2 separate regions of the Homo sapiens genome follow, and region 1 is linked to region 2. The links are contacts of gene promoters, found by promoter capture Hi-C in blood cells and fetal thymus (Javierre and others, 2016). All regions are on one chromosome and are shown on one strand. The core of a region is centred on a gene start or on the middle of the fragment in contact, and the rest is flanking DNA. Distances in the headings are between cores, read along the strand shown. Region 1 overlaps TNFSF11 (TNF superfamily member 11). Region 2 holds the start of ENOX1 (ecto-NOX disulfide-thiol exchanger 1).

Region 1 (4,388 bases), core at 1,826-4,325, 1.2 Mb before region 2:
ATGTGGGAAAGAAGCATAGGGACTTTCTGTATATGTATTTTTTAATATTAGCTTTTAAAAGCTGTGCTTTAGTAAATATTTTGGAATGTACAAATATACGAGAGTGATTTTATTTAATATTTAAATAAATACATATGTACATTTCAGAGCATGAAAAATTTTTTCCCTGATGGAGCTGCACAGTCAGCCATTTTTGAAGATCATGGAGTGAAGCTGCAAGCTCCATCAGGACAAGGGCCACAGCCATTTCGCGCACATCTGAATATATCACACTTAGTTTATTCTCAGGAATGAATGGAGAAAAGCATGAACAAATGATCAATGACTTATTGAACTCTGTAAACTAATATTTTACATCAACGAACTCATAAAGCCATTCAGAATGTTACAAGCCTTGTTCTTATTTATACGATGCTGTCTTACCAGTCCTACAATTGATAATTAGGAATATTATGGCCTGAGGCAGTAATGCTTCAGTACAATAATAACACAGGTTTATTTTTGTTAGAAGTTACCCCCAGCTGGCCCTCTCACATCAGTCACATTTTCATCAGGCTTCTTTGTTCTGCATAACCTGACTGCTATGTAGAGGTGGGCTTATAATGTGAACTAAAAACATGATTCTGGCTCCATATATGAGTTAAATTTTATAAAACTCTCTAACTTCCCTCCAAAATATGAAAAGCCAATGGTATTGTAATGACTGCTGATAAGTTATCTTGTTGTCATATCCTCAACAAACCATTCCCTGGAGTATAAGCCTTTGAGTCTCTAAAGACTTAACTGGAGAACAGGAAGTAAGACCAGGGAGCCATAATTATTAAACAATTCATTCTTACCTGAAATTCTTTTTTATTCCCTGGGAATCAGGTACCTATTTGGCCTCATCTTCAGAATTCATAATGTAGAATTCAGAATTCACAATATCCTCTGATATTAAGATTAATATACCCAAAGATTTGTAGCACTTTGATCCTCAATGAAGTATTTGCTGTTATTTGGTATAGTCTGAGCTGGGTAACAAACAGACCCATCCATTCAGTGAACTAACTAAGAAACTTTTTCCCTCTCACATAACAATCCAGACGTGAGTCATCCAGGACCAGTAGGGATGCTCCTCTGTCCTCAGCATGAACCTTCCATCTCTGTTTCTAAGTTGGCTTCTCCATTTGCTGTTATTTCTAGATAGGGGAAGGGTAAAAGAAAACTGAAGACAGTACCTGGAAGTGGAGACATCACTTCCAGTAGCATCATATCGGCTGGAAGTTACTCATAAACCACATCTTGCTGCAAGGGAGACTGGACAAGGTAGTCTCTAGCTGAGCAGCCATTTGTCCACAAAGCTTGAGGAAGGGAGTTGCCTATAACTAATAGGCAAAAAGGAGTGGAAGGAGATGAGGGGACAATGAGCAGTCTCTGACATTCACTAAACCCCATTTAGGTAGGAAGGAGGACTCACCATATATAAGCAAGAGTTAACTCTGAGAACACATAAGTCTATTAAAAATTTTAATGGTCAAGATTGTATTTTCAAAAGGTCAAAATACTTTGGGATTATTTAGATTGCAAGAGAGTGAGAGAAATTTGAAAGTAGATTCAACAGCATTCATCTTTTTGAGGAAGTTTCAAAGGTCTGTTTAGAGATTGCATCTGTGATTGTGGAATAAACCTTGATTGTCACCTGCACCGCTTTTGCTAGGTTTTGTAGATTAAAAAGAGCATTAATTAAAAACTAGAAAGTTCACCAGATTAAGTGATTGTGTTTTCTACATATGGGAAACAGATCCCCTTGGATTGCAATCTCCATTATTATAAGGAGCTCATTCCTATTTTTGAACTAATGTAAATAAGAAATCAATGAAATTTAAATAGATTGTAACTGCTTGTGAAACTGTAATCATTGAAGTTGTTATATGCCACTATTTCTCATTTGCCTATTAGTTAAAAAAAGGAGAGGAGGGATTAAACCCCATTCATTGCCTCTTTCCCTTTGTATACAAGAGTATGTGTCCGAAGAAAGTTTCTCATAAACCCACAAGGGTACTTGGTTTTTGGAGCACTCATGTTCCCAAGTCACGATGTTAGTCATGTAGTGGTTTTCCAATAGGATTTCATCTCTGTTTGCCATAATAGTTTTGGAAACTGCAATTCAACCCCAATCACATTTAGCGTTTATAAAAGCTGTCTTTATGGGAAAGCTGAAGTAAGACCCACAGAGTTTTCCTACAAAACCAAGGCCATCTATTGGCTTTAGCTCAACAATAAGTTATTGGCTTGTACTCAATTTCAGGGGAGACCCAGGGAAGAAGGTAGGAAGCAGGAGGGTTTGCAAGAGGAAAATAACCGGTGAGTTATGTCAGAGGTGGGCTTTTCTTTGTGTTACAAGTACCCCAGGATGGAAGAAAAGATATTCTGCATGACATCTTTAAAGAAACAGAGAGCTGGAAGGACATGCTTGAAAGAGGAGCCTTCATTATGTGGCCTGGGATCTTGGGCTAACCTTCCAGAAGTGGATGAAACTGAGGGTCCTTGGTTGGAGAGCATGACAGCAAGGGATAGATTGGATTGTTCTACCAGCAGCGGCAGGAGAGGTACAGCCTGTGTAATTGAAGAGCGGGATGTGCCTTAGAGCAGTGTTTCCAAACCTCCTGGATCTTAAGACTCAGTTGGGGCCCTTGTTTTAAAAAGAGAAGAGAAAAGTCCTCCAGATCTATCAGTGGGGACTCTGATTTGGCAGTTCAGGGGTGGACTCTGTGATTTCTTCAAAGCATCCTAGGAAGAGGTGAGAGCCACTGGTGGACAGGGAAGCCATGGTGAATGAAGTGACTATATTTGAGAAGGAGTGTGAAGCCTGTGTGGTATGAAAGAGGTGGGTCCCGGAAATTGTCAAGAGCTGTCTGTTTCTGAGATGACCAGACAACAAATGCTTGCTCAAACTTTTGGAAGTTCAGGGTGTTGGGGAGTTCCATTCTCACTTAGCTTCTGCATCACTAGGCTGCTACTCCTGTCCTCAGTCTTTGCCCTTCAAGAACACTAGGTAGCGGCGGCGGTGGTGGTGGTGGTACCAGTAAAAATAATCATCATAATGATAAACCCTAAGGCTCATATTCATCAAAAAGTTTGAAAGCACTCAGAACTCTTCTCTTCAGTGCCTGTGGCTGCTTCTCATTTGATCTAGTTTTTCATGGTGAATGACAATACCATTATCTCCACCACCCCAAACTGGAAGTCAGAAGATGGTCTTATCCTTTTATTCACCCACTCTTCACCTCTCCCCCATCCTGTGAATTCTACCGCCTTACAAAACCTTCAAGTATTGTCTCTACTCTGCTCACTGTGTGGTCACATGAACAGAGGTCATCATCCTCTCTTGCCTGCATCCTTGCATCTGGCCACCCCCTCCTGGCCTCACTGCCACTGGCCCATCCTTCCCATAGCTGAGGGACTTCGAAAATGCACATCTGAACAGGTCATTTCTTTTCCTGCTTAAAGCATCCTTCAGTAGATCGCTGTGGTTGTCAGGATGAAGTCTGAGCTGCTGAACATGTAACAAAAAGTCCTCTGTATTCTGGAAAGCCTCGTTCCAGCCCCTGCCTCTTCAGGCTTGTTACCTTGAATGCTCCATGTCATCGCCTCCATCGCAACTTGTACTCCACGGCCTCACCACAGTATGGTGCTGAACTCTCCCGACCTGGCCATACCCTTTCGCCTCTCTGCCTCTCTGCAGTAATCAGCAAGTGCAGAGAGGGCAAAGGGCATGTCTGTCCTGCGAACAGTGTCCTCAGAAACCCACAGGACTCCTGACTCCTAGCCTCCATCGGTAAACTTTGTTGAATGGATGAATGGATGAATGGATGAATGAATGATGAGTCTTTGTGCATAGTCCTTTGTATGCCACTCCATGCCCTTCTTTGTGTAGTCGGTTTTCTAATTGTCTTTTAAAATCCAACTCAGGCATTACTTCCTGGAGGAGGAGCCCACAGATGCCCGCCCACCCACCTGTGGGGGTAGGTGCCCCTCCTGGGCCCACACGGGGCTTCTTGTAACAGCAGTAACCACACGGACCTGGGGTGAACTGGCTCACTTGAATGTGAGCTTCCCAAGGACAGGGTCTGTGGGATGTTTCCTTTCTACATTTCCAGCCCCAGTGGCAAGCACATAGTTGGTGCTCAGTGAAAGTTTAAAGAACAAGTTTAATGAATATGTGAGTGACCTGTGCCCTATGTGTGCACACTTGGTGTGCTCAGGTGGCGAGTTGTTTAATATTGCCAGAAGCTAGCCAGCCATGTGATCAATCCATAGGATTCTTAAGGGGCTGGAGGTCACTCGCAAGCTCAGTGTTTTCCTGCTTCTTTGAGAGGAGAGCTCTTTTCCTCTTTGGAGCGTGA
Region 2 (4,275 bases), core at 267-2,766:
CTTTCCATACGCACGTATTTCCTGCATTCTCCTGGGTCTGCTTTTAAAAATTGCTACCACCAAACAAATGCAATCTTAACAAAATTGGGATTACAAAGCCAGTTTTTTTCATGTAATGTTACAGCAGTGAAAGATTGAGGGAGAGAAAAGGAGAGAAGCAGGAGTGTATCTGGGTGAAGAAGCGTGGCTCAGTGGCTATACAGTGAGACGCAGAGATTCCACAGAGCTGGGCTTGCCCACCTGTCGACCCCACTTTCCCCATGTGCTCGCCGCGGGATGACAACCACAACACTCCAGAACCACCCCCCTTCCGAAAGAGGGCGGGGTTACGCCTTCAGCCAATCAGGACCCGCGAGCCCCGGGTGTCCAACCTATGGGGTGGCTGTGGCCGTGCAGGGGGAGGACGTGGGGTGGTCTGGGAGGGGCCGCGTCCGTGGGAGGCTCGCACGTGTCGGGTCCGGAGAGGCGGGGAGGCGGCCGGCGTCCAGCGGCCGAGGCGCGGGCTCTGCACCCTGGCAGCGGCCGAGTCCGGCTGCCCCAGTGCCTCCTTTACCTCGCGTTGGGCCAGGCAGGGCGCGCTCCCGCCGACGAAGACCTGTCCAAGGTGTCCGAGCTCCCCGCGAGAGGGGACAGTCACGAATAACAACAGTACCCAGCGCAGACTAGGCGGGGAGGAAAGTTTCCGGCCCGCAGCAGAGCGGAGTCCGCCAAGGCTGGAGGAAAAGGGATGCAGAGCGGGAGGGTGAAAACCTGAAAGAAGAGGGCAGCGGGAACACTGTGTGGGCAGGAACGGGTCCCGGGGGCGACGCCCGCAGGGGGAGACGGGTGCGGGGTGCGCTGTCCAAGGTGCAGGGGAGGTGACTGGCGCGCGGCGGGCGCGGAGCCCGGAGCTGACACTGGCTGGCGGGCGGAGGGGAGAGCGGGGAACAGCTGTCTGGGGCGCTGGGCACCCCCGGGCGCGTAAAAGTGAGGGAGCTTGAGACGGGGCACGGCGGGGAAGGGCGTGGGGGCTGCACCGAAGCCCCCACGCGTCCACGCACCCCTCCTCACCAGCCTCACCTCTAGCTCCACTCCCCTCCCCCCTCGCCCACTCCCCTCTCAGTCTAGATCCAGGTGCCGTGGCGGGGGTGAGACCAGAGGACCCCGGCTCGGAGCCCGGACGCCCCAGGGAGGCTGCGGGCCCCGGAGCTGCTTACCTGGGGCCGCCGTATGGGGAGCGGAGGCAACCCGCTGCGCGGAGTGGGGCGCCGGGCGCGGCGCGGCTCCTCCTAGCCTCGGCGTCCTCCTCCTCCTTTGCTTCTCCCGGACTCTGTCCCGGGCACGGAGCTGGGAGACGCGGCCGGGCTGCAGTCGCCGTTCCCTCTGCTGCCGCCGCCGCTGCAGCAGACAGAGGACGCCCCGTGGCGGCTGGAAGCCTGTGTGAGTAGCGGCGCCCGGGAGAGCGGGGATCTGCTGAGGGGCGCTGGAGACTCCGCGGCTGGAGGCGCGCGGGCGTGCGCACGCGCGCCTGCGAGTGTGAGTGTATGGGTGCGCGCGCGCCCACGGGGTGGGGGAGTCGCGAGGGGAGGGGGAGAGAGGCCGAGAGATGCTCGTAGGGACCGAGGCAAAATTCTACGACCCCGGAAATCCGTAAACGCGGGGAAGGAGGATCGAACGCGTGTCTCGCTTGGAGAAGCTGCCCACGGGGCGGCAGCAGAGGAGGAGGGGAAGTCAGCGAGGCGCGCTAGGGCTCCGGATCCCAGCCCGGCAGAGCCGAGCGGAGCGCGCAGCCACCGATGCAGCAGAGGCGGCGCCCGCAGCCCACGGTCGCGCTGCCCCCTCTCGGGAGGGGCCGAGGCCGCTCGCTCCCGCCACCGCCGCCGCGGTCGGGACTGCTCTACTGGGAGCGGGGGAACCGAGAGAGGGACCGCACGGTTGCTACGGCGACCTTGGAGGGGCCGGGCCCGCTGAAGGGCCAAGAGAAGAACCCGGGCGCACGTGGCCGACTCCAGGCTGGAGCGGGCGTGTTACAGGATTGTGGGCTTGGGGTAGACGGTGGAATTGGGCCGCGTGGCCTGGGCAGATGATGCGGGGTGTGCGGCCCAGAGTGGCTCGGCCGGGGTGCGGTCAGCATTCAGGTTGGTAAGGGTGAGGGGATCCTAACCCCAGGTGACATGTTGCCTTTTTTTCCTCCTTGGAGGCTACTTTTTCTCAAAGTTACCCACTTCCCAGGTAAGAATGCCGGCCTCCTCTTTGTTAGGATTCAACTTAGCTGTGCAGGCATCTAAGCAGTGCCTCCTTAGAGTCAGGCTCGTCCAAGAACCGCTCCCACCACCTCCCCACACACACCCACATCCCCCGATCCTCCATCCCAACTACATTGTAATACTTCAGAAATAAATGTTTAAAGCACATTTACATTCTCTGCCTCTTAACAGATATATTGTCTTAGTAGTATACTTTTCCTTGCTTATTTTAAATTCTGAGTGGGATTTTATTCACACAAGCATTTCTTCAAGGGTCGTAAGGTCTGGGTAATACTTGAAATACCCTTTCTGGCAGGAATCCTCAATGCAGGGATTGTGTTTTGCACACTTTTGCATGCCTTCCAGTGCTTAGCATAGTACTCTGTACTTTGTGAGTTCCCTGTAAATGTTGAATGAATGACATTGTTTTCTAGCTTCACGTAACCTGAAGGCAAAGACTTGGATGCTGGGAAAGTCATTACCACCCCACTAGGCTTGCCTGATTTTAACTTATGCCATTTCCTTGTGTGTGGCTATTTTTCCCCCTGGCGGTCAGAACCCCAATGCAAAGAAAGAAAATAATACTTATCCATTGTGCACCCTTAACAAAGGATGCATGTAGAAGCACTCTGCAGGGACCCCAGTGGGATGCCCTGGGTGTGAGGGGGCCAAAGCTCAGAACCTAACCTCTCAAAATGTGAAAGTCAGTGTTCACCAGCAGTTTATACTGTCCCTTCTAGAGCAGAAGGATGGGGAAAACAGTTTTAAGAGAAATACACTTTTGTTTTTTGTTTTTTGAGACGGAACCTCGCTCTGTCACCCAGGCTGGAGTGCAGTGGCGCGATCTCGGCTCACTGCAACCTCTGCCTCCCGGGTTCAAGCGAATTCTCCTGCCTCAGCCTCCTAGTAGCTAGGATTACAGGCGCCGGCCACCACGCTCGGCTAATTTTTTTTTTTTTTTTTTTTTTTTTTTTTTTTTAGTTTTTAGTTTTTAGTAGAGACACAGTTTCACCATGTTTTCCAGACTGGTCTCCAACTCCTGACCTCAAGTGATCCGCCTGCCTCGGCCTCCCAAAGTGCTGGGATTACAGGCATGAGCCACCGCTCCAGGCCAGAAATACACATTTCTAATAGCTTATCAGGTACGCATTTTTCTCCTGTAAAGAGTAGTGTTCATGGACACTGACCAATACATGCAGGGTCACCCCAGACTGCTAATTCTGCTGTCTGGTGTAGCACCAAGTCCACATCCTTCGACCTCGGTATTTCTACAATCATCGTCTTAGAAGCAGAAGTCTTCAATTTTGCATTTCATGCTAAATTTCAATTCCTTTGAACTCAGGCCCGCCTATGAGCTGCTTCTCTCTCCACTCATGATACCACAGCTGTGAAATATAACTGAAATAAAGTGAAAATTAAAATGGATTTATTTGGGTACCGTGTGTTCTTTAGTGGGGGTCCCTTTAACTGATTTATCTACCTTCACTCAATTGACAATCTTCTTAGAAGACATTTGTTGTGATATTGGAGCTTTTTTATTAGGTTGAAAGCTTACTTAAATTTCTCACTTGAAAGGAAGCTCTAAAACTTGCAAAAGAAGCAGAAAAACTCTGATACCGAAAATGGACCCTTGACAGCCAACCTATAGAATGGGTATGAGTCAGAATTTTCCAAAACAATTTTAAAGCTTCATTTTCCTTAGAAAGTTGCTTTTAGGGTTTTGTTGGGCTCAGAAACTAATACCGGAAAATATGGCACTTTGACATGCTGGACTGAAGAAGCAGCCTCAAAGTCTCTCTGACCCTCTCTCTGCCTCCTGTCTCTCAGTCGTCTGTCTCACCCAAAGCACAGGATGAAATTGTTCTCTGAAGGTCTTTCATCTGCCTAGAAACCAGATCTGCCAAAGAAGAACGCACTTGCCTTCCCTGAGTTTTTATTAATCTAACTCACGTCGTAGGAAGAAAGATTGAAGCCTGTCAACACAACTGGACATACTTTTGTCACACTCCTCTGCGGGCCCAACAGACTTTATCCCAGGCCATTTTATGTT

What was found. The method cuts DNA at HindIII sites, captures the fragments that hold promoters and counts their contacts. A CHiCAGO score of 5 or more calls a contact.
Region 1: a contact is called between a fragment that was not itself captured here and the fragment with the promoter of ENOX1 in region 2, in 1 of 17 cell types (naive B cells). The highest score is 5.6, in naive B cells.

What each region holds. Positions count from the first base shown.
Region 1 is chr13:42,585,995-42,590,382 of GRCh38, forward strand. All of the region lies in intron 2 of TNFSF11 (TNF superfamily member 11), which reads left to right. Among named protein-coding and RNA genes, the nearest start is that of TNFSF11, 14 kb to the left of the region's middle. The HindIII fragment of the contact is 3,469 bases long and covers 1,342-4,388 here.
Region 2 is chr13:43,785,456-43,789,730 of GRCh38, forward strand. It overlaps ENOX1 (ecto-NOX disulfide-thiol exchanger 1), which reads right to left and starts at 1,517. Exons shown (of 17, transcript NM_001347969.2): 1 at 1,197-1,517. The HindIII fragment of the contact is 7,995 bases long and covers 1-3,773 here.